Linked DNA regions of Homo sapiens: all the other regions are linked to region 4. The links are contacts of gene promoters, found by promoter capture Hi-C in blood cells and fetal thymus (Javierre and others, 2016). All regions are on one chromosome and are shown on one strand. The core of a region is centred on a gene start or on the middle of the fragment in contact, and the rest is flanking DNA. Distances in the headings are between cores, read along the strand shown.

Region 1 (6,389 bases), core at 653-3,152, 290 kb before region 4:
TAAAATTAAAAACCTTAATCCATGTACCATCTATGACCATCTCACGATTATAGCACACCTTTATACATATCATAGACTTTATGATTACACCTAACATACAGTGATCGCTAAAACTCACAGTTTGTCTCGCTTTCACTGTCTGCTTGATCATGTTCCTGCCAGATCTTCTTCCACTTTTTACAGCACACATGGTGTATTACTATTAAACAGATCCCTTAGCTAATCTCTCTCACGAACCCCTTCAAATTATACATAACAGTGGAAATTCATTTCATTCTAGTTCCTGTAAGTTTTCTAGCGGAGGCATATGTCAATAAAGAAATAATTTCCTAAGGCAGGATTTCTACCTGAATTCTCAATTGCTTTATGCCGCTTATTTGGAAGGGCCACAGATACATCCTCGTAATCAGGGTCGGTTTCTTTGATGGTTCGCTTGATTCCAGACATGATGACATTCAGTTCTTCACTGTGAAGCAATGATAAATTAATAATTTTTAATTATTCAGTTAAATAGTTGGGTTGTAGTAACACTGCATACCAGTACTTACAAATATATGTGTACAAACAAAATAAATAAATAAATATTACATTAATACTGGTACTTGCAAGTCTGTGGGTATGTGTATATACACACATATACATATTTCTTTTAAGGCCAAAAGCCTAAGTTTAAAAGTTTCCACCAAAAAAAAAAAAGAAATCATAATCATCTGTTAACAAGCATGGGTTTCCCTTTCAAGAGAAAAATCCTTGAACAAAGTAGCACATTGTTCAGACTTTTCAAAAGGAGCCTGGCTTTCATGGAAGAGCCCTCATAAGGAAAGGAAAGGAACCAGACTTTGATGAAAACATGGTTAGCCCACACAGTGTCTTAGAATTCACTAAGCATTCAGCATATTAGAAAATATAAGCAACATAGTTAAAGGCTCAATAAATAATTGATTATACAGATCCTTTCTCTGGTACTTAGCAGGTATCACTATTACTGATCATTATTACAATAAACACAAATCTATAGACTTATATTAAACTAATTAACAAGTCTGCAATACGGTAAACAAGCCCCACATACACAAGTCTTTGAATAAAACAATCCCATTAAAAAAAAAATCCCGGCCGGGCACGGTGGCTCACGCCTGTAATCCCAGCACTTTGGGAGGCCGAGGTGGGCGGATCACGAGGTCAGGAGATTGAGACCATCCTGGATAACACGGTGAAAACCCGTCTCTACTAAAAATACAAAAAAAAAAGACGGGCATGGTGGCAGGCACCTGTAGTCCCAGCTACTCGGGAGATTGAGGCAGGAAAATGGCGTGAACCCAGGAGGCAGAGCTTGCAGTGAGCTGAGATCGCGCCACTGCACTCCAGCCTGGGAGACAGAGCGAGACTCCATCTCAAAAAAAAAAAAAAAATCCCATAAATCCTCTAGACCTTTACTGTCTCAGTACATTAACCACTAGCCTTATGTGGCTGTTTAAATTAAAATTTAAAAAAATTTAAAATTATGGGCCGGGTGTGGTCGCTCATGCCTGTAATCCCAGCACTTTGGGAAGCAAAGGTGGATGGATCACGAGGTCAGGAGTTCGAGACCAGCCTGGCCAGTATGGTGAAACCCCATCTCTACTAAAACTACAAAAATTAGCTGGGCATAATGGTGGGCACCTGCAGTCCCAGCTACTCAGGAGCTGAGGCAGGAGAATTGCTTGAACCCGGGAGGCAGCGGTTGCAGTGAGCCGAGATCGTGCCACTGCACGCCAGTGTGGGCGACAGAGCAATACTCCGTCTCAAAAAAATTAGTGCTCGAGAGTCACCGTAGCTAGTAGCAACTACATTGTTCAGTGTAGATACGAAACATTCACATCACTGCACGAGTTTATTGGACAGTGCTCCTCTTCCAAAGTGCTTCATTAAGCAATGATACATATTTCATGAGTCAGTTTCAGAAATATCATCCAGACCAGTGCTGTCCAATAAAAATATAACATGAGCCACGTACAGAATTTAAATTTTCTAGCTGCCAGGTTTCTTATTGATTGATTGATTGATTGAGACGGAGTCTCACTCTATTGCCCAGGCTGGAGTGCAGTGGTGCAATCTCGGCTCACTGCAGCCTCCGCCTCCCGGGTTCAAGCAATTCTCCTGCCTCAGCCTCCTGAGTAGCTAAGATTACAGGCATGCACCACCACACCCAGCTCATTTCTGTAATTTCTGTATAGACAAGGTTTCACCTTGTTGGCCAGGCTAGTCTCAAACTCCTGACCTCATGATCCACCTGCCTTGGCCTCCCAAAGTTCTGGGATTACAGGTGTGAGCCACCGTGCCCAGCCACAGCCACGTTTGAAAAAGGGAAGTGAAATGGGTGAAACCAATTTTAACAATATATTTTACCTAACCAATATATCTAAAATATTATCACCCCAACAATGTAATTGATATAAATAAATCAGCAATTAGATTTTACGTTATATTTTTACCAAGTTTTTAAAATCTGGTGTGTATTTTACACTTACAGGACATCTTAATTTGTATTAGCGGCCTGTACAGGCCATGTACAGGCAAGGTGGCTCACGCCTGTAATCCCAGCACATTAGGAGGCTGAGGCAGGCAGATCATTAGAGGTCAGGGGTTCCAGACCAGCCTGGCCAACATGGTGAAACCCCGTCTCCACTAAAAATACAAAAATTAGCTGGGCCTGGTGGCGGGCTCCTGTAATCCCAGCTACTTGTGAGGCTAAGGCAGGAGAATCACTTGAATCCAGGAGGCAGAGGTTGCAGCGAGCCAAGATCACACCACTGCACTCCGGCCTGGGCAACAAGAGCAAAACTCTCTCGAAAAAAAAAAAAAATTTGTATTAGTATTAGCCACAATCCTAAGGCTCAATAACTACTTGTGGCTGGTGGCTCCCTTTCTTCGCAGCCTGGATCTATTGATTAAGATAAGGAAACAGGTCCAGGGTGGTTAGATTATCCCTTACAGTGTTAATCTATGAAAGAGACCAGAATAGCTCTCTGATTTCCAAATCTCTGTTCTACCACTAAGGAAGATTCCCTAGCCAGAGGCAGAATTACTGAGGTAACAACATGTTTTAAAATAAAATTAGGCTGGCTGCGGTAACTCACGCCTGTAATCCCACCACTCTAGGAGGCTCAGGCAGGTGGATCACCTGAGGTCAGGAGTTCAAGACCAGGCTGGCCAACATGGTGAAACCTCGTCTCTACTAAAAATACAAAAAAATTAGCTGGGCATGGTGGCTCATGCCAGTAATCCCAGCTACTCAGGACGCTGAGGCATGAGAATCGCTTGAACCCAGAAGGCAGGTTGCAGTGAGCCGAGATTGTACCACTGCACTCCAGCCTGGGAGACAGGGTGAGACTCTGTCTCAAAAAATAAAATAAAATAAAATAAAATAAAATAAAATAAAAGAACATAAAATGCTAACTCAAAAATACTCATTTTGTATTCACTCAAAGTTAAAACAAAAATAACAATTTAGGCCGGGTGCAGTGGCTCATGCCTGTAATCCCAGCACTTTGGGAGGGCAAGGTAGGCGGATCATGAGGTCAGGAGTTCGAGACCAGCCTAGCCAACATGGTGAAAATCCATCTCTACTAAAAATACAAAAATTAGCCAGACGTGGTCATGTGAGCCTGTAATCCCAGCTACTCAGGAGGCTGAGGCAGGAGAATCGCTTGAACCCGGGAAATGGAGGCTGCAGTGAGCCGAGATCATGCCATTGCACTCCAGCCTGGGTGACAAAGCAAGACTCCATCTCAAAAAACAAAGAAAAAAAAAAAACACACTATTTAAAAGTCCCTCAGCTCTTAGTCCAGTTCTTTCACTCATCTCAGAAACAGACTCACTTGACTCAGCTAGGAGAGTGGCTCATTATGTAATGTTACATATGGAAGTCCCACATCTGAGAGAACACTTTTCCTACAGCTGTTATCTGCTGTTATATCACTAATCTTAAAAATATTCTAAAACCCCCAGAATTTATAAACATCATGAATCAAGCCATTTAATGTTTGTTCATATTCATCCGTTACCTGCTACAATTCAGAATATAAATGACTATTTTTGGACAGGCCCAGAACCCAACTATTATGTTTTATGTTTAAAGCTTTTTTTTTTTTTTTTTTGAGACAGAGTCTCGCTGTCTCCCAGGCTGGAGTGCAGTGGCGCGATCTCAGCTCACTGCAAGCTCCACCTCCCGGGTTCACGCCATTCTCCTGCCTCAGCCTCCCGAGTAGCTGGGACTACAGGTGCCCTCCACCACGCCCGGCTGATTTTTTTTTTGTATTTTTGTGGAGACGGGGTTTTACTGTGTTAGCCAGGATGGTCTCAATCTCCTGACCTCGTGATCCGCCCGCCTTGGCCTCCCAAAGTGCTGGGATTACAGGCATGAGCCACTGCGCCCAGCTGTTTAAAGCTTTTAAAAAGTAAAAGTAAGGTCTTGTTTCTTCAGCCTTCTCCATTTGGTCTGCAATTAATTTTAGACAGCCTCAGAAAATCTTGGGCTGTTACATAAAAAAGACAACTTTAAAAAAAAATAAACTTAATTTATTCTTCCTTAATGCAGATAGGAATCTAAAAACACCTAATTACACATGAACCTAGAATCAGAGGTGGATATAGCCCAGCAGATACCTAAACTTGTCCTTGTACCATACTACTTCCTCATCAGGCACCTGTCTTCCACAGTTTGCCAAGAGTCATAGGAGATTATCTACAAAGATGAGTCCCCCTCCAGCATCATCCTCACTTATCCATTCTACAGACTTCATAATCTGTATATTCTTATCCTACCTTCCAAGTAATCTCAAGAATAACGGTGGCTCCCACTAAAATGGCTGGGGATCCTTGAAGAAAAGTTATTTTTATTTTATCCTCACTTAAGGGACTTAAAAAAAAAACCCTCTCTTTGACTTTTGGTGTAAAACTGGAAGACTAGGAAGAGAAAAGAGAGGAATTTGGGGAGGGGGTGGGCAGAAAGGAAGAAACCAACAATGAGTTCATTTGTGCTGCCAAGATAATTCATTTTTTATGCAGCCTTTAGAATAAAGCTTTTCTTGTTGCATGTGGGCATATATTTGAGCTTCTTATAAACACATTTAAGAGGATTAAGCTCTATACTGGGCATTTAAAAATAATCCAGGTCTGCTTCTGTCTCACAAGAATAATAATGTGTAATGTGCACATGTCACATGCAAGTAACTGCTAGCTAGCTAAGACTAGGCACATCTGCTGAGGCATGCTCTCATGATGATATAATAAATAAGTGAACAGAATGTGTAACAAATGACCAATGATAACATTACCTTCTGGACTCTTCTTGTCTGACTTGTAGATTTTATGAAAAGGAAACATGAGCAGTTGTTAGATATGGTCAATTCAACTTGGAAACAAAATGTCCAGCTAATCCTCTATAGCTTCTGAATCAGCTGAAATTGAAAATACTGAGATGGTACTAGGAACTGCTAGGAAAAAAATCTGTTATCATATACAATTTGACTGTGAGAAAGAATTTTCTCTATACTCTGAGACAAAAACTGAATACGGAAATAAATGTAACGCTGCGACTAAAATAAGACTACTGTCATCCATTTCTCCAATTTAAACTTTTTATCTCGGGTCAGGCATGGTGGCTCACGCCTGTAATCCCAGCACTTTGGGAGGCCGAGGTGGGCGGATCACAAGGTCAGGAGATGAAGACCATCCTGGCTAACATGGGGAAACCCCGTCTCTACTAAAAAAAATACAAAAAATTAGCCGGGCGTGGTGGCGGGCACCTGTAGTCCTAGCTACTCCGGAGGCTAAGGCAGGAGAATGGCGTGAACCCGGAAGGTGGAGCTTGCAGTGAGCCGAGATCACGCCACTGCACTCCAGCCTGGGTGACAGAGCAAGACTCTGTCTCAAAAAAAAAAAAAAAAAAAATTTATCTCATTAAAACAGCCTCATTATAAAAAGTAAATGTGGGCAAGATGCAGAGGCTCAGGCCTGTAATCTCAGCACTTTGGGAGGCCAAGGCAGGTGGATCACTTGAGGTTAGGAGCTTGAAACCCACCTGGCCAACATGGTGAAACCCCATCTCTACTAAAAACACAAAAATTAGCCGGCCATGGTAGTGCATGCCTATAGTCCCAGCTACTCGGGAGGCTGAGGCACGAGAATCTCCTGAACCTGTGAGGAGGCAGAGGTTGCAGTGAGCCGAGATCATGCCACTGCACACCAGCCTGGGTGACAGAAACTTTATCTCAAAAAAAGAGTAAATGCTTTCAATTTAAATATAGAAAATAAATGATTTTTTCCATAAGTAACACAAGAAAACAAAGCTTTATAGAAGTAAATGCCATCAATTAAAACATACCATATCCATTCAAATAACATAA
Region 2 (6,247 bases), core at 439-2,938, 280 kb after region 4:
AGAAAAATCAGTCACTTAACCTTGTTGTTCAATCAAGGCAAATTATCCATATCATTCGCTTTGTGACCATGGACAGGCTGCTCATGATCTCTGAGCCTCAGTTCCTCTTCTATAAGATGGAGCCAACGAGTGCTTATTTTGCTGGGCTGCCATGAGAGTGTGCTGAGCTAAAGAATGTAAAAGTGTTCAGCGTGGTATTTGGCCCCTAGAGGGGTCAGGAGAGGTGGATTTCCTTTCTTTTTTTCCCGCAGTTTCATTTTTTAAAGAACTGAAAACCTTTCCCTGTCAGTGTCTCATTTGGTTAGGGTGACATGCTGAAAGTTGTTCAGACCCTTCCAGTTCAAGATCACATGCATCTCTCCCCACACCTCCCTACAACATCCTTCCTGGTGGGATAGTTGCTTTTAAAACATTCTGCAGTAACTTCATTCTGTGCACAGGACTATCCCTTTCTCCTCCACCCCTTTGGCCGGGCAGCTCTAGGTCTCCAGCCCTGGCTCGTGAAATCAACCATCAAGAGAGGAGAGGTGCGAGGGTCAGGCAGTGCACTGGCCGACTGAGGTCCTGGAATCAATGCTGCAGACCCACCTGTTGTTTCCCCAGAGCTTTTTTTGTTTTTTGAGAAAGGGCCTCCCTCTGTCACCCAGGCTGAAGTGTGGTAGCACGATCAGGCTCACTGCAGCCTCAGCCTCCTGGACTCAAGTGATCCTCCACCTCTCAGTCTCCTGAGTAGCTGGGACTACAGGTACATGCCACCATGCCCAGCTAATTTGTGTATTTTTTTCTAGAGACAGGTTTTCATTATGTTGCTCAAACTGGTCTCCAGAGCCTTTGAGGGGCATTTGGAACCCTCTTGGCCTACGAGCTGGGCTTCTGAGGACTGTGACCAGTGTTCAAGTGTTGACACCCTCACAGTGCACACTTAGAACTCCCCAAGTGATCTGTACTTTCCATGCTCTTTTTCCCCTGGTACTTTTCCCTCTGCCTAGAAGGCCCCTCCCACCCCTCAGCTCCTTTAGCATCCATCCTTAAAATAACTCAAATATCATCACCCTGTGAAATTCCCCCTTCCCCACTTCCACTTCAGGTAAAATGAGAGACTTCCTCCTCTTAGTTCCCTGAAACTCTATTCATTGTTCCCCAAACTTCATCAATGCACTTGTCACACATTTTGCCATCCCCAAGGCAAAGTCTATGGCTCCTTCACGTCTCTTCTCTAGTGCTCACCCCGACTTCGCATATAGTATATCTTTAGCAATGTTTGATAAACAAATGTATCAATGAAGGAGAAAATCTAAATTTTGCAGAGAACTCTGGGTCAAAGTGCCAAAAAGTAGATCACAGGTTCCTTTTGCTATGTCCAGAACAAAGCTTTCTTGATTTAGTCACAACAATGCTGAGCGAAAAGGACATGATTGATGCTGAAGACAAAATCCACATCCTGAACAGCTGGGACTATGAAACTTCCACGGTGTGTTTTGCAGAAGTGGACAGGGGGACCTTAGGACCCCATGGTTATTGGCATGCTGGCGTCCTGGGCAGGATGAATTGGGCTGGTTGGTGCCAGACCCCCGTATGTCTGCAGAAAGGTAGACATGTTGGTGGACCCACAGTTTTGCTAAGGAGGATGTTAAGGTTCCTTGACGGATTAACAAAGGACCACAGAGCCTAAAATATTTCTGGAAAAAAGTTTACCAAAGACGATTTTATTTCCTTTAAGAATATTCAGTAACACTACAATTCTACAGAATAAAGTGGTACAATTGTCTAAGCCTCATTCCATAGCATAAATTGTGTAAAACTTGGAATCTTTTTTTTTCTTGGAAAGAGACACTTAATAGGGATGTATGAACAGAAGCCATGTCTGTCTTGAATGGTGATGAGACAAGATGGTATATCCCCACGCCATTAACCCTGAGACCCAGGGCTTAAATACCATATGGAAAGGGTGAGTCAGAAGAGATGTGTAGGACAATTGAAGTATGATCATGTCAAGTCAAGCTTGTAATCTTAAGAAAACTAAATATCCCCCTGTCCTTTTGTTTACATGAATCCACCTAACAGATACTTTTCCTTTACTCTAAAGATAGACATCATGGCTAGACATAGTAGCTTATACCTCAAGCCTCATTCCTTGTCAACCCAACACCTTGAGAGGTCAAGTAGGGAAGATCTCTTGAGGTCAGGAGTTCAAGACTAGCCTGGGCACCATAGTGAGATCCCATCTCTATAAAAAAATTTTTTTTAAATTAGCTGGCTGTGGTGCCACGTGCTTGTAGTCCCAGCTACTTGGGAGGCTCAGGCAGGAGGATCACTTGAGCCCAGCAGGTTGAGGCTGCAGTGAGCCAAGATCTTGCCACTGCACACCAGCCTGGGCGACAGAGGGAGACCCCAACTCAAAAAAAAAGCTAGACATCAGCTTAGTCCTAGTCAATGTTTCACTAATTTTGACTCAGTCAAAATGGAAAGAATTCTGAGTACAGCTTCCAGACTCTGTCCTGTGTGTCCTTAAGATGAACTCAGAGTGAATGTGAGCACCCTGCTTACGGAAGGCCTCATTTTTTGATTAGCCCTAGAAAGCGCAGATTCTTGTGGAACAGCAGTGGCCCTGCCCATCAGGGACGGGTTCACAGGTGTTCTGCCTGTGCATCCGGAAGGGCTCAGACTTGTTTTCATGCTTTGCTGTTGCCCCATGAAATTCTTGATTTTTGAACACATGGCCCGGCACTTTCATTTTTTACTAAGCCCCAAAAATTCATTATGTAGCCAGTCCTGCTTCCCATCAATGGTTATAGGTTTCAGCTGCATTTCAGGGAATGTGAAAGTAAATTCTCACATAATGAATTTTTGTTCTATACCCACACATCCCATGGAGGAAAATGTAGGGCAGGATCTTGCTTTGTCTCACCTACAAACTACATGCATCTGCGGTAGATGCTTAACTCTTCTGAGCCTCTTTGTTCTCAGCTGTAAAATGGTCTGTTAATATCGATTCTGTCTCGGGGTCGTTGTAAGGATCAAGTGAGGCAATGTCAGTGAAAGCATGCACGTGGCGAATTCTGAAACTCTCACAGAAATGCCAAGCATTCTTCCTTTAGGAGGGACAGGTCAGGGAGACACCAAAGGGAAGATTCCAAGAGGCCTCTGAGGAGTCTTTGCTGACCTCATCACTATTCTGCTGCTCCTCAAATCAATCTCACAGTGCAGCCCGAGCCATTTACAAAAACAAAGCTATGCTCATGTCACTGCCCTGCTTAAAACCCTTCGATGGACGCTCTTTGCCCTTAGGGATGGGGCGGGGGCCTTGTAACCCGGACTGTGGACCCTGAAATATAAGTCTCTCTTATATTAAAAGAGGCTCCAAATTTTAAAAATGCCCCAAATAAATGGTATATTAAAGCAACACAAAGATGGTCTCTTTTTAAAAGAGATGTTTCTCCCTAAAGCAAATGGATTGTCTAAAGGCATTGTTCAACTTGCCTTCAAGAACCAAGAGACTGAGCACCTTGACGGAGGCAACCAGGTCCTCTCCCAGGACCAAGAACAATCCCTGGCATGGAGTGGGTATGAAAGAGACGTTAAAGGCTAGACTTGAGGCAGGCAGAGCTGGAGGTCATATCTTCCCCTGCCACCTCTTAGGGCTGTGACCTGGAGCAAGTCACCCAGCCTCATTTTCTCTCATGATTATTGTGAGGATTAAATAAGGCAAGTGCTTGGAAGTGCCTGCGACAGTGCCTAACACGGGGTAAGAAGCTATTGTGTGGTAGGTGCTATTCAATGAATTGTAGGATCTAGAGCTCAGTGTATCAGTATCAATGACCTTACTAAAACAGTTTCTATTTATGGAACCCTTTGATTGTATAATGAATCAACATTTTATCCACTAATACACAAATGAGCTATAATGTGGTCAAGATTAGTATTGTTAAGTTTCTCTAATGACTATATTTGAAACCTCTAAAAGTAATTCAATTTCAGGTTTTGATTTGGGTTGCTCTGCCATTTTTGCATCTCTTAACTTGTAAATGGTTTTCTAAGGAATGTTTAAAACTGAGAACACTGTGGATCACCTCAATTAAAAAATAGAAACTCCCTTTTCAACTTACCCTTCTACACCCCAATTCAGTTCCCTAGAAGGTTTCAGACCCTTTGTTTTTATAGGGCTGTTTTGTAGTTTGTTTTTGTTTTTCTGGAAAGATAATTCCTAGATGAAATGTGGGGGTGCTGCTTTAGGTTTTAAATACAACCACTTGGGGTTCTCTTCTAGAGAATACCCAGGGATCTCAGGGTAAGGCATGTCTTCCCATAATCCCTCCCACTGGCCCCATTTAGCCATTTTGAAGACATAGACCCATTAATCTGTGTAAAGCCATTCACACCCTACATAAGAACATGTACACACCATTTTGTATACATTGTTTTTCCCAGAGGGTTTATGGACCCCGGGAGGTCCTCCCATGGTATCCTTAAGGATGAGCCTTCTAAGCCAGATGGAAGGTCTTAAAAATAAAAGGAAAGGATGAGTGGTCTCAGGATAAGAATTCCTACCCTTAGATATTAATTGCTAGTAAACACTTAATATATGCTCCTGCTCCTCCATCTTCCCAATGGACTTGCATTTTAACAGGGAGAAATTTGGCCCAACCGAAGGGACTCAAATTGTACTGGTGGAATTTGAATACCAGGCCCTAGCAACTAGTATGCAGTAGGGAAATTTGGGGCCAGGGGAAAACTGTTAGTTATTATTTATTTATTTGTGGTATGTTTACTTTTTTGGAATTTTCATACACAATTATGACCCAGTACCAAGTAACTCCCCAGCCCTTATATCCAGATTTAATAGCTGGAATCTTAAACAAAGTTTATAAACCAAGATTGTAAACATATGAGTAGAGATAACCCAAAGGTTAACACCCTACTGTTTTACAGGATGAAGAATCATATTATATCAGTGAAGTGGGAGCCTATTTGACCGTCTCAGATCCAGGTTAGTAATTACAGAATGCCCATTCGACCAGCCATGACGCTGTTTCTGTTGGTTAGCTCACCTTTCATCCCATTGAATCTTCTCATGTTTGATGCTGCTTTTTTTTTTTTTTTTTTTTTTTTTTTTTGAGATGGAGTCTTGCTCTGTTTCCCAGGCTGGAGTGTAGTGGCACGATCTCGCTCGGCTCCCTGCAACCTCTGCCTCCCGTGTTCAAGCGATTATCTTGTCTCAGCCTCCCAAGTAGCTGGGATTACAGGCGTGTGCCACCACACCCAGCTAATTTTTGTATTTTTAGTAGAGATGGGATTTCACCACATTGGCGAGACTGGTCTCAAACTCCTGACCTCAGGCGATCCACCCACCTCAGTCTCACACAGTGCTGGGATTACAGGCGTGAGCCACTGCACCCGGCCGATGCTGCTTCTAAGGAACAGACTGAGAAAGCAGCCAGCAATGTGATTTTGGGGGACTTTACTACGCCTCTGTGTGCTGTAATTTGCCCATCTGCTCATAAAGGAGGCTGGACTAGATTACGTCAGAGATCATGATTGGCAACAATAAAGAGTTTAGTGGCTTTTTGACAGATTTGCTGTCGATAGTGCAGCTTATTCTATACTCTGGGAATCATACATTCATTCTACTAAAATGTAGTTAGTGCCTGCTAGGTGCCAAGCCCTGTATTAGGCACTGGGGATCCATAATTTTTCAAACTAATAGTTCTTACCCTCATGAAGTTTACATTCTAGAAGAGGAAGAGGACAACAACACATTAAATGATAATACAGTACTGCCCCCCGACCTTATTCGCGGTTTCACTTTTCATGGTTGGTGCAAAAACAGGTGAGTACAGTACAATTAGAGTTTCTGAGAGAGAGAGCTCACATGCACATCACTTTTTTGTAGTGTGACAATTTTTCTATGTTATCATTAGTTATTGTTTGTAATATCTTACTGTGACCAGTTTATACATTAAACTTCATCACAGGTATATATGTATATGCAGGAAAAAACAGTATATCTAGAGTTCAGTACTATCCATGGCTTCAGGCATACACTGGTACACTGGGGGTCTTGGGTTGTATCCCCCAAGGATAAGGGGGACTCCTGTGCTCTGTTAAGTAGTGATAAGTTCTTTTTTTTTTTTTTTTTTGAGACAGTCTCGCTCTGTCGCCCAGGCTGGAGTACAGTGGCTTGGTCTCAGCTCACTGCAATCTCTGCCTCCCAGATTCAAGCGATTCTCCTGCATCAGGCTTCTCAGTA
Region 3 (5,561 bases), core at 2,791-5,290, 260 kb after region 4:
GATATGTCTTTATCAGCAGTGTGAAAATGGACTAATACAGTAAATTGCTACCAGTAGAGTGAAACGTTGCTGAAGATACCTGAAAATGTGGAACAACTTTGGAACTGGGTAACAGGCAGAGATTGGAACAGTTTGAAGGGCTCAGAAGAAGACAGGAAAATGTGGGAAAGTTTGGAACTTCCTAGAGACTTGTTGAATGGTTTTGCCCAAAATGCTGATAGTGATATGGACAATAAGATCCAGGCTGAGGTGGTCTCAGATGGAGATGAGGAACTTTTTGGGAACTGGAGCAAAGGTGCCTCTTGTTATGTTTTAGCAAAGAGACTGGCCACATTTTGCCCCTGCCCTAGAGACTTGTGGAACTTTGAACTTGAGAGATTATTTAGGGTATCTGGTGGAAAAAATTTCTAAGCAGCAAAACATTCAAGAGGTGATTTGGGTGCTATTAAAGGCGTTCAGTTTTATAAGGGAAGCAGAGCATAAAAGTTTGGAAAATTTGCAGCCGGACTATGTGACAGAAAAGAAAAACCCATTTTCTGGGGAGAAATTCAAGCTGGTTGCAGAAATTTGCATAAGTAGCAAGAAGCCTAATGTGAATCCCCAAGACCATGGGGAAATGTCTCCAAGGCCATGTCAGAGACCTTCACAGCAGCCTCTCCCATCACAGGCTTGGAGGCCCAGGAGGAAAAAGGGGTTTTGTGGGGCAGGCCCAGGGTCCCCATGTTGTGTGCAGCCTAGTGACTTGGTGCCCTCTGTCCCAGCTGCTCCAGCCATGGCTGAAAGGGGCCAATGCATAGCTTGGGCTATGGTTCAGAGGGTGGAAGCTGTGGGGCCCTCAAGGAGAACCTCTTAGGGCAGTGCAGAAGGGAAATGTGGGATCAGAGCCCCCACACAGAGTCCCTATCGGGGCACTGCCTAGTGCAGCTGTGAGAAGAGGGCCTTTGTCCTCCAAACCCCAGAATGGTAGATCCACTGACAGCTTGCACTGGGTGCCTGGAAAAGCTGCAGACACTCAACACCAGCCCATGAAAGCAGCCTGGAGGGAGGCTGTACCCTGCAAAGCCACAGGGGTGGAGCTGCCCAAGACCATGGAAACCTACCTTTTGCATTAGCGTGACCTGGATGTAAGACCTGGAGTCAAAGGAGATCATTTTGGAGCTTTAAAATTTGACTCCCTCACTGGATTTCAGACTTGCATGGGCCCTGTAACCCCTTTGTTTTGGCCAATTTCTCCCATTTGGAATGGCTTTATTTACCCAATACCTGTACCCCCATTGTATCTAGGAACTAACTAGCTTGCTTTTGATTGTACAGGCTCATAGGCGGAAGGCCTTGTCTCAGATGAGACTTTGGACTGTGGACTTTTAGGTTAATGCTGAAATGAGTTAAGACTTTGAGGGACTATTGGAAAGGCATGATTGGTTTTGAAATGTGAGGACATGAGATTTGGAAGGACCAGGGACAGAATGATATGGTTTGGCTGTGTCCCCACTCAAATCTCAATTTTAATTGTATCTCCCAGAATCCCCACATATTGTGGGGAGGGGGGGACCAAGGAAGAGGTAATGTATTCATGGGGGCTGGTCTTTCCCGTGCTGTTCTCATGACAGTGAATAAATCTCATGATATCTGGTGGGCTTATCTATCAGGGGTTTCTGCTTTTGCTTCTTCCTCATTTTCTCTTGCCGCCACCATGTAAAAAGTCCCTTTCGCCTCCCACCATGATTCTGAGGCCTCCCCAGCCATGTGGAATTGTCCAATTAAACCTCTTTTTCTTCCCAGTCTCAGGTATGTCTTTATGAGCAGCGTGAAAATGGACTAATACAAGTCTTAACCCCAAGTATCTCAGAATGTGACTATATTCGGAGATAGGGTCTTTAAGAGGTAAAACGAGTTCAAAGAGTAGGCACTAATCCTACCTGACTAATGTCCTTATAAGAAGAGGAGATTAGGACAGACAAAGGCATGCACAGAGGGATGACCATGTGAAACAAAGGTGTCTACTAGCCAAGGAGAGAGGCCTTAGAAAGAACTAACCCGGGCCGGGTGCAGTGGCTCACGCCTGTAATCTCAGTACTTTGGGAGGCCGAGGCGGGTGTATTACCTGAGATCAGGAGTTTGAGATCAACCTGGCCAACATGGTGAAACCCCGTCTCTACTAAAAATACAAAAATTAGCCAGGTGCAGTGAGAGGCACCTGTAATCCCAGCTACTCGGGAGGCTGAGGCAGGAGAATCGCTTGAGCCTGGGAGGCAGAATTTGCAGTAAGCCGAGATCACACCACTGCATCCCAGCCTGGGTGACAGAAAGAGACTCTGTCTCAAAAAAAAAAAAAAAAAAGGAAAAAGAAAAAACCAACCCGGCTGACACTTTGATCTCACATGTCTGGTTTCCAGAATTATAAGAAAGCAAATGTCTGTGGTTTAATTACCCAGTCTGTGGCACTTTGTTATGTCAGTCCTGAAAACTAATGTAACCAACCATAGTCTTGGTCAAAAAACAAATATCAATAAATTTGTAAGATTTAAGTCCATAATTATGTTTTCAACCACAGTGGAATTAAAAATCAATAAAAGAAAGATATCTGAAAAACTATATGTTTGGAAATGAAATAATGCTATTTTAAATAACCATGAGTCGAGGAGATAGCAAAAGGAAATTAGGAAGTCTTTCTAATTATATGAAAATGAAAACATATTAAACTTGTGGGATCCAACTAAAGTAGTAATTAGAGGGACGTTCATAACAGTAAACCTGTTTATTAGAGATGAAGAAAGATTTTATACCACTGGCCTCAACTTCCATCTTTTTTTTTTTCTTTTTTTTTTTTTGAGACAGAGTCTAGCTCCTGTCACCCAGGCTGGAGTGCAGTGGCGTGATCTCAGCTCACTGTAACCTCCACCTCCCGGGTTCAAGCGATTCTCCTGCCTCAGCCTCCCGAGTAGCTGGGATCACAGGTGCCCACCACCACACCCAGCTAATTTTTGTATTTTTAGTAGAGACGGAGTTTCACCATGTTGGCCAGGCTGGTCTTGAACTCCTGACCTCAGGTGATCCTCCCACCTCAGCCTCCTAAAGTGCTGGGATATCCCAGGCAAGTTCCATCTTTGAAAACTATTGAAAGAGGAGCAAATAAAACACAAGTTAAGTAGAAGAAAGAAAATAATAAAGATCAGGTAGAAATGAATAAAACAGAAAACATAAGAACAATGAAGGAACTCGATGAAATGAAATTTTTTTTTTTTTCTTGAAAACATGAATAGAATTGATCAACCTCCAGCCAAACTTATCAGGGAAAAAAGAGAGAAAATACAAATTATTAATATTAGCAGGGAAATAAGAGAGAAAATACAAATTATTAATATTAGTAATAAAAGAAGTGACATCACTACCTATACTACAGATATTGTAAGACAAGGGATTGTTATGAAAAGCTTTATGCTAATAAATCCAACAACTTAGTTGAAATAAAAACCTTTTTTTTTCCTCTTCTTTTCTTTTTTTTAGACACAGGGTCTGGCTTTGTCACCCAGGCTAGAGTGCAGTCGCTTGATCGCAGCTCACTACAGTCTTGACCTCTCAGGCTCAAGCAATCCTCCTGCTTCAGCCTCCCAAGTAGCTGGGACTACAGGCATGTGCCACCATGCCCAGCTAATTTAAAAAATTTTTAATAGTGGCAGGGTCTCCCTGTGTTGCCCAGGCTGGACTTGAACTTCTGGCCTCAAGTGACCCTCCCACCTTGGCCTCCCAAAGTGCTTGGATTATAGGCATGAACCACTGTACCAGCCAGAAAACGTTTTTTGAAAATAATAAACTATGATACTGCGATATAATAATATATCTTTGGTCTCTGTCCCAGTTTCTAAGACAGAGCTCCTAAAATCCTTATATGCCAGAGTTCTAGGAGAATCTTTTGTTTTAATACTTGGTCTTTGACCCTGGTTCCTGAAACAGAGCTCCTAAATCCCTTGGAATTTCCAGGGTAAGAGGAGCAGCTTTATTTTATTTATTTTTTTTTTTTTGAGACGGAGTCTCCTTCTGTCGCCCGGGCTGGAGTGCAGTGGCGCGATCTCCGCTCACTGCAAGCTCCACCTCCTGGGTTCACACCATTCTCCTGCCTCAGCCTCCCGAGTAGCTGGGACTACATGCACCTGCCACCACGCCTGGCTAATTTTTTTATATTTTTAATAGAACTGGGTTTCACTGTGTTAGCCAGGATGGTCTCCATCTCCTGACCTCGTGATCCGCCCGCCTCGGCCTCCTAAAGTGCTGGGATTACAGGCGTGAGCCACTGCGCCCGGCTATGTGCTTAAAATCCTAGACTCTCAAGGCAGACAAGATTTATGGTCAGGTTTCGGTATTTATTATCTAAGTGACTCTGGGCAACTCCCTTCTTTGTGCTTAGTTTCTCCATCTGCGAAATGGGGCAGCGATAATAACAACAGTGTCCATATAGAGTGGCTATGGCGCTTAAATGGAATAAGAAGAGTGCCTGGCACACAGTCTATACCCACTTAATTATCGTCTTTTGAATAAACTGTCTCAAAGATCAGAAAGCAGGTAGTTGCTGAAACTAGGTTGACTGGCACAAGTTAACCCTCACTTTTCACCATAAAAATTCCATTCTGAAACACACTGCAAGCTTTGGTTAAGTTTACTTGATTAGTGTTTGGAGCAACATAGTAAGACAAAATAGTTGTAGCCAAAGTTATTTTTCAGAAAATAATTTGAGGCTAGGCTGAAAGCCCTCAATCTAGTGATAAGGAGGGTCTCCTAATATACTGCTTAAATGTGTATTCCCCACTGGGACTCAAGCCCTGTCAAAACATCGTTGTTTTGACAGACAATCCAATTAATAGAGGAAGGAGATAAGACATTAAAAGGTTGCCTGTCAGCGTTGTTGAGCCGTGGGCCGTGGCTTACGCCTGTAATCCCAATGGTTGGCTAACGCAGGAGGATCATTTGAGGCCAGGAACTCGAGACCAGCCTGGGCAACACAGCGAGACCTCCTCTCTACATAAAATAAAATAAAATAGCTGGGCGTGGTGGCACGCGCCTTTGGTCCCAGCTACTCAGGAGGCTAAGGTGGGAGACTCACTTGAGGCCAGGAGGTCGAAGTTGCAGTGAGCCGAGATCACGCCACTGCACTCCAGCCTGGGTGATAGAGCGAGACCCTGACTCCAAAAAAAAAAAAAAAACGATATTGTGTGTTTTTTGTTCCAGGATTTTCTGGTCTGTAAAACCACCTGGGGCCAGGCACAGTGGCTCACGCTTGTAATCCCAGATCTTTGGAAGGCCGAGGCGGGCGGATCACCTGGGGTCAGGAGTTTGAGACCAGCTTGGCCAACACGGTGAAACCTGGTCTCTACTAAAAATACAAAAAATTAGCCGGACGTGGTGGCGCACATCTGTAATCCCAGCTACTGTGGAGGCTGAGGCAGGAGAATCGCCTGAACCCAAGTTTGCAGTGAGCCGAGATCACGCCATTGCCCTCCAGCCTGGGCGACAGAGTGAGACCCTGTCTCAAAAACAAAAACAAAAACAAACAAACAAAAACAAAG
Region 4 (5,940 bases), core at 927-3,426:
AGGATAGGCACTGCCTGCTACATCTCACCATAACTTGAGCTCATTTATCTCCATGGAAACCTTTGAGGACTGTGAAAGTACCAAAGATGTGGGCAGCACTCTGAGTGTGATTTATTTCCTTTCTGTTTTCTTTTTGTTCTCATTCTTAATCATAAGCTTCTCCTCCCTCCTTTTCCTCTCCTCCATTCCTTCTCTTCTTCCTTTTCATGTTTCTCACCCATAAGGACCCGGCCTAAGCCAGGAAGCTGAGGTTACTGGATCTTCAAAGTGGCTCTGACACTCCAAGTCCAACATACCCCACATCATTGTCTTCTTTACTAGGCGTTGGTTTCTGCTGACCAAAACTCACAGTTGGCTGTGACTGGGCACCAGGGTTCTGACTACTATCAGTAGGAAACATCTCATTTGGTTCCTTGAAAATTCTTGTGACCCTTGAACGCCGGAAACATAATTCAAAAGCTGCCTCCCCTCCTGCGGATCTTTAACCTTTCTTTTTTTTTTTTTTTTGAGATGGAGTCCCATTCTGTTGCCCAGGCTGGAGTGCAATGGCACGGTCTTGGCTCACTGCAACCTCCGCCTCCTAGGTTCAAGCAATTCTCCTGCCTCAGCCTCCCGAGTAGCTGGGATTACAGGTGCGTGACATCATACCCAGCTAATTTTTGTATTTTTAGTAAAATGGGGTTTCACTATGTTGGCCAGGCTGGTCTTGAATGCCTGACCTTGTGATCCGCTCGCCTTGGTCTCCCAAAGTGCTGGGATTACAGGCGTGGGCCACTACGCCCGGCCTTTTAACCCTTTTTTGAATCTCTTGCAAAAGGTGGTTGTGAAAATGGTTGCTCAGTGGCCGGGCATGATCACTTGAGTCCATGTGTTTGAGACCAGCCTGGGCAATATGGTGAAACTCCATCTCTAAAAACGAAAAAAAAAAAAAAGAAAGAAAAGAAAAAGAAAATCCTTGCTCTGTTTTGCAGGCAGAGTGCAAAGTGCCCAAACTTCACAGGGGGAAGAACCTCTCCACAAATCTCATGACACAGGTGAACTGACCTCGCTTCTCAATCACAGCCCACAATTGTTAGAGAAAGCATTAAAAAGGGCTGGGCGCGGTGGCTCACGCCTGTAATCCCAGCACTTTGGGAGGCCAAGGTGGGCGGATCACGAGGTCAGGAGATCGAGACCATCCTTGGCTAACACGGTGAAACAAACCCCATCTCTACTAAAAAATACAAAAAATTAGCCGGGCGTGGTGGCGGGCGCCTGTAGTCCCAGCTACTCGGGAGGCTGAGGCAGGAGAATGGCGTGAACCCGGGAGGCGGAGCTTGCAGTGAGCTGAGATCGCGCCATTGCACTCCAGCCTGGGCGACAGAGCCAGACTCAGTCTCCAAAAAAAAGAAGAAAAGAGAAAGCATTAAAAAAATACCCTCAGCCCCCTGTGATGGGTGGCTACTCCTAGAATTTGGATCCAGGGTGTTTGCGGCTTGGCTTTTTACATATCGAAGAGGAAAGAGATGGCTGAGAACATCCGCCTGGGTGGTCCCGCCATTCCGCCTGCTGAGTATTCAGGGACTCCCGCTGTAGAAAGGATTGGGGGACAACCTGACCGAATTCGCATTTGCTCAGGCGTTTCCCGTAGCGCTCTGCTGAACTGGGGTTAGTCTTTTGCTGCCAGTCAGAAAGTGTCTGGGCCCAACTAGGGAAACCACGGGATAATGGGCTGATGGGGAGGAGGACCAGCATGGAGGATGTGCCACAGCCCCTCCAGAAGGTAGCACTGGCGTGCCTGACAGGTGACAGACGGAGCAGAGGCAAGGGCGCAGCTGCACGAAGGAAAACGCCCACATAGGGGGTGAGCGCGCCCACGCGTGCTCAGCCTTGTCGGAGCGCAGCCCGGGCGCCGGGCTCCCAGTGCAGGTGTGGCCAGCGGAGGTCAAGAACTGCGTGGAACAACCCCAAGTGGGGGAAAACACACGCCAGCCGCCCCCGGGGTCAGGAGGTGGGGCAAGCAGCGGCGCCTCACCCAGCCTCCCGCTCCGGGTCCTGCCGGATGGCGGCAGCTCTCCGGGCCAGCCCCCTTCTCTCCGCGGCTCCTCCGCAGACACCCGGCGCGGAAGAAGGAGGGGCGGAGACCTGGCCGGCGCGCGTCTGATGATCCGGACCCCGGTGCGACTGGAGCGCCTCAGTCACTGTCTCCCCGCCCCACGGTTCCGAGTAAGGACCGGAGCTCCACTCCGGGGGTGGAGCGCGGGCTCCCCGCAGGGAAAGGTGCGCAGCGTTCCCGACCCCAAAACGAGCGGCGCTTGGGAGCGTGCGTGCCTCCCCGAGAGCCCCGGGCGCCACCCGTGGGCTGGACGAGGTGGGCGCTGGGGCGTGGGGCCGGCGGCGCAGAGAAGCCACGGCCACCTGCCGCCTCCCCTGCACCTGGCGGAGCATCCCTCACTCTACAGTCCCTGGAGGCGGCGCCGGAAACCTGGCGGCCGGGACCGCGATTCTGGAAGCCCCGGAGCTCGCCCGGCCGGAGGAGCCGGGGCGCGGTTCCGGCGAGATTGGCGACTTGCTTCCTTTTGCAGAACGGCCGCTCCTCTCTCGGTCCAGCTGCGACGCTGGGAAAGCGCCAGACTTGGTCTGTCACGGGAGCCCCCGCGGGGCGTGGCGAGGGAGAGCTGGCCTAGGCTGCGAGGGACTCTCGTTTCTTGCCTGGAGAGCCAGGAAGAGGGCGAGGGCAGAGCATCCTTGGGCGGAGATGCCTTTAAAAAATCATCCACCGCAGCGGTAGAAACAGTTTTGTTTGGCTTTATTTATACGGAATGGTTTTTCAGTGAAATGCTGTCTTGCTTAAAAGAAGAGATGCCTCCCCAGGAGCTCACCCGGCGACTGGCCACAGTGATCACTCATGTCGGTAAACGAAGCTTTAATTTTTCCTGCGTTTTATTAATGGCGGGTGAGGATGGTCTCTGGGCTTCATCTGGCTCCTGGCCTCACCCGCTGCCCCGGGGCAGCGCGCTTCCTGGGGGGTTGCCCGGCATCTGGGCCTCGCTGCTCTGGGTCCTGCCTGCGGTGCCCAGCGGGGGGCATCCCTGGGGCGCGCCGCTGGTGGGGGTCGGGGGGCCGAGGCTGGTGCCTTCACCAGGTGGTTGCCGAGTCCGTTGAGCTCCAAACCGAGGGCTGCTGGGCTGTTACCATCCGTTAGCTGCTTCTGACGGGAGTAGGGTGGGTGGGAAGTTATGTTCTGGTTTTGGGGATAGTGAGAAAGGAGAGGGCATAAGAGGAACGAATGCCAGTGCTTTTCAGCAGAAATGATTGCCACGCCACTGAAGGCTTGTTTATAAGAAAGTGCAGGGAGAGGCAGGTTACATGGGAGCGCCCCTGCGCAGCTCGGCCGCTAGGCCTGTTTTACTGTGCTGCCTGGAGGGTTAAGCACACCCCTGATGATCCCCGCGAGAAATCTCTGCAAGCCAAGGAGACTGAGCAATTTTAATCTTCTTCCCTGAGTTGAAAAGAGGAGCAAAACATGCATTGCTTGCTCCTGAAATAAGGGTTGTGATGGAACGTCAGGCCCCACAGACTAAGTAAGGGCAAGAGGACATTGAGACAGTTCCCAGTCAGTTTTTTCTTAGCACTTTCTTCCCCTTGGCCTTCCCTGGACCTCCCTCAGTAAAGACACACATTCAGGTTCAGAACCTCTGGATGTGGGCAACTGGAATTATCGGGATCATTTTCTCTGTTGCTGACTGTGCTTGGAGGTCCTCCCATGAATGCAAATCAGCTTTTATTGATAAAGCCAGGAACTATTTGCCTTGGTTTTCTACACATTTGTGAAAGCTGCTTTCTTGGTACTTGCATGTTAAATGTTGCCTCAATTAGTCCAACGTGTTTGCTGTAATAATCGTGCACATCTCAAATGATACACTTGTGAGGACATACTTTGTAAAGATGATTTATATGGGAAGGCCCAGTTTTGATAATTCAAGTTTAGAAAAAAGTTTCTGGTGCCAATTGTGGGCACTGAACTTTTACGACAAAAGATCAGTAGGATCCTACCAGGTAAGGTTGAATGTGAAATATTGCTGAAGGCAGTGTGAAATAAGAGGAAAAAGAACTTGTAATGAAACAGAATTCGGAATCTGCAATATGATGAAAGTTGAAATGATTGTGCTAAAACCCAGCACAGGCATGAAGTTGTGGTATAGAGAAAGAGCAGTGGACTCGGGGTGTGACCGTCTGGATTTGAATCTTTCCCTGGACAAGTCATTCGACCTCAGGTTGAAAAATAGGAATTTTAATAGTACTTTCCCACTCAGCTCAAAGGCTACTTGTGAAGATAAGTAAGATAATTTGGGTAGAAATACTGTGTACACTGTGATTATACAGACATTTCAGTTATTAGACATATCCCTGGTCCCTCTGTCACGCCACTAAAGATCTTTGGTGGGTTACTGGGCCTCTCTCAGGGCGAAGCCTCCCATCTGTTAAACGAGGGGTTGACCTGGATGATTTTAAAGGTCCCTCCTATTTCTCTGGAGCAGGCTCTTCTTGAAAATCTGGCAGGCAGTATTCCTTGACTAACACTTAGCTGCCTGTGGCGCCCAGGCTATGGTATTTTCTTGCCTACCTTGCTCCCTCCCTCCTTCTATAGACAGCTCCATGCAGGATACACATAGGAATTTGTTGTAGTTTCTCCTTTCAACCTCTAATGACCCTTGGCTTTTGTGTGCTTTGCAAGATTCTGTCTCCTCATACTTAATCTAATAAAACCTGTGAAATGGGTGGGGTACTCATTACTACCCCTATTTTACAAATGAAGGAATTGACTCAGAGAGGATCATCTTTTTTGTTTTTTTTTTTGAGATGGAGTTTCGCTCTTGTTGCCCAGGCTGGAGTGCAATGGTGTGATCTCGACTCACTGCAACCTCCGCCTCCCGGGTTCAAGCGATTCTCCTACCTCAGCCTCCCGAGTAGCTGGGATTACAGGCATGTGCCACCACGCCCGGCTAATTTTTTTTGTATTTTTAGTAGAGACGGGTTTCTCCATGTTGGTCAGATTGGTCTTGAACTCCTGACCTCGGGTGATCCGTCTGCCTTGGCCTTGGCCTCCCAAAGTGAGAGAGGATCATCTTTTAAGGTTTCAGGGGGAGTGAGTGGCAGGCTCAGGGCAGGAAGGTAGCTCTTCATATCCCCTACTGGGGGACCTCAAGGTGGAGCGGGCGTTTCTCTAACCCTGCAACAGCCTCAGCCTTCACGGAGGGTCACTTTGGGTAGCCAGTGGAGCTTCTCAAGGGTAGATTGGCTCTATGCTTGCCTGTTCTTTTCAGGTATTTCCTTATCAAGTAGCTTCTGAGGAGGTGATCATGAGTTGGGGAAGGTTTGAGAGGTGCTTGGAGCAAGGCTTTGGGTTGGAACATTCTCCGGGTCCTATCCTAGCCACTTGCCAGGGTAGCCACACTGTCTTCCGTATTCACTCGGCCTCCTCTGACCCTGAGTCACTTTCTCCTCCAGCAGGGGTTTCTGCTCTTTCCATGTCCCTTAGACTTGGTAATTGAGTCATCTCTCTTCACCCACTCCCATATTTCCATAAGTGTCTTGGCTGCTGTTGATTCAGTTTCAGAAACACCTCGCAGCTTTCTTTCCTCATGTCCATCCCCACTGCTGCCTGCCTCAATCCTACTTCAGGACTTCATTTCCTTTTAACTAGCCGTTGTGCAAACCTCCTGTCTCTCTGTGTCTGCCTCTGATGTATACTACGAGCCAAACAAACACGACACTCTATATTCCAAAGCCTTTAATAATACCTGCACCTAGTCATTCTCTGCAGCCTAAGATACAAGCTCTTCACTGTTTGGCCTATAAAGTTCTAGCTTTATCCCCTAATAGTTGAGATTTCTACACCTATGGTTGGACAACTTGAACTCTTCAGTTCTTTGGCTCTGTCCCATTATGTTTTCCAGA

Evidence for each region. The method cuts DNA at HindIII sites, captures the fragments that hold promoters and counts their contacts. A CHiCAGO score of 5 or more calls a contact.
Region 1: a contact is called between a fragment that was not itself captured here and the fragment with the promoter of MCF2L2 in region 4, in 5 of 17 cell types (M1 macrophages, erythroblasts, activated CD4 T cells and 2 more). The highest score is 5.9, in M1 macrophages.
Region 2: a fragment that was not itself captured here is called in contact with the fragment with the promoter of MCF2L2 in region 4 in 8 of 17 cell types (M1 macrophages, M0 macrophages, M2 macrophages and 5 more); the score reaches 15.5 in M1 macrophages.
Region 3: a contact is called between a fragment that was not itself captured here and the fragment with the promoter of MCF2L2 in region 4, in 5 of 17 cell types (M0 macrophages, M1 macrophages, erythroblasts and 2 more). The highest score is 10.9, in M0 macrophages.

Annotation. Positions count from the first base shown.
Region 1 is chr3:183,709,221-183,715,609 of GRCh38, reverse strand. YEATS2 (YEATS domain containing 2) reads right to left here. Exons shown (of 31, transcript NM_018023.5): 2 at 348-466. The coding sequence starts at 447. Among named protein-coding and RNA genes, the nearest start is that of YEATS2, 15 kb to the right of the region's middle. The HindIII fragment of the contact is 4,440 bases long and covers 1-4,122 here.
Region 2 is chr3:183,139,278-183,145,524 of GRCh38, reverse strand. It overlaps LAMP3 (lysosomal associated membrane protein 3), which reads left to right. Exons shown (of 6, transcript NM_014398.4): 4 at 4,930-4,987. Among named protein-coding and RNA genes, the nearest start is that of LAMP3, 20 kb to the left of the region's middle. The HindIII fragment of the contact is 630 bases long and covers 1,374-2,003 here.
Region 3 is chr3:183,163,952-183,169,512 of GRCh38, reverse strand. No RefSeq gene overlaps it. Among named protein-coding and RNA genes, the nearest start is that of LAMP3, 4.0 kb to the right of the region's middle. The HindIII fragment of the contact is 1,208 bases long and covers 3,437-4,644 here.
Region 4 is chr3:183,424,855-183,430,794 of GRCh38, reverse strand. It overlaps MCF2L2 (MCF.2 cell line derived transforming sequence-like 2), which reads left to right and starts at 2,176. Exons shown (of 30, transcript NM_015078.4): 1 at 2,176-2,893. The coding sequence starts at 2,818. RefSeq lists a silencer at 2,347-2,426. The HindIII fragment of the contact is 2,747 bases long and covers 159-2,905 here.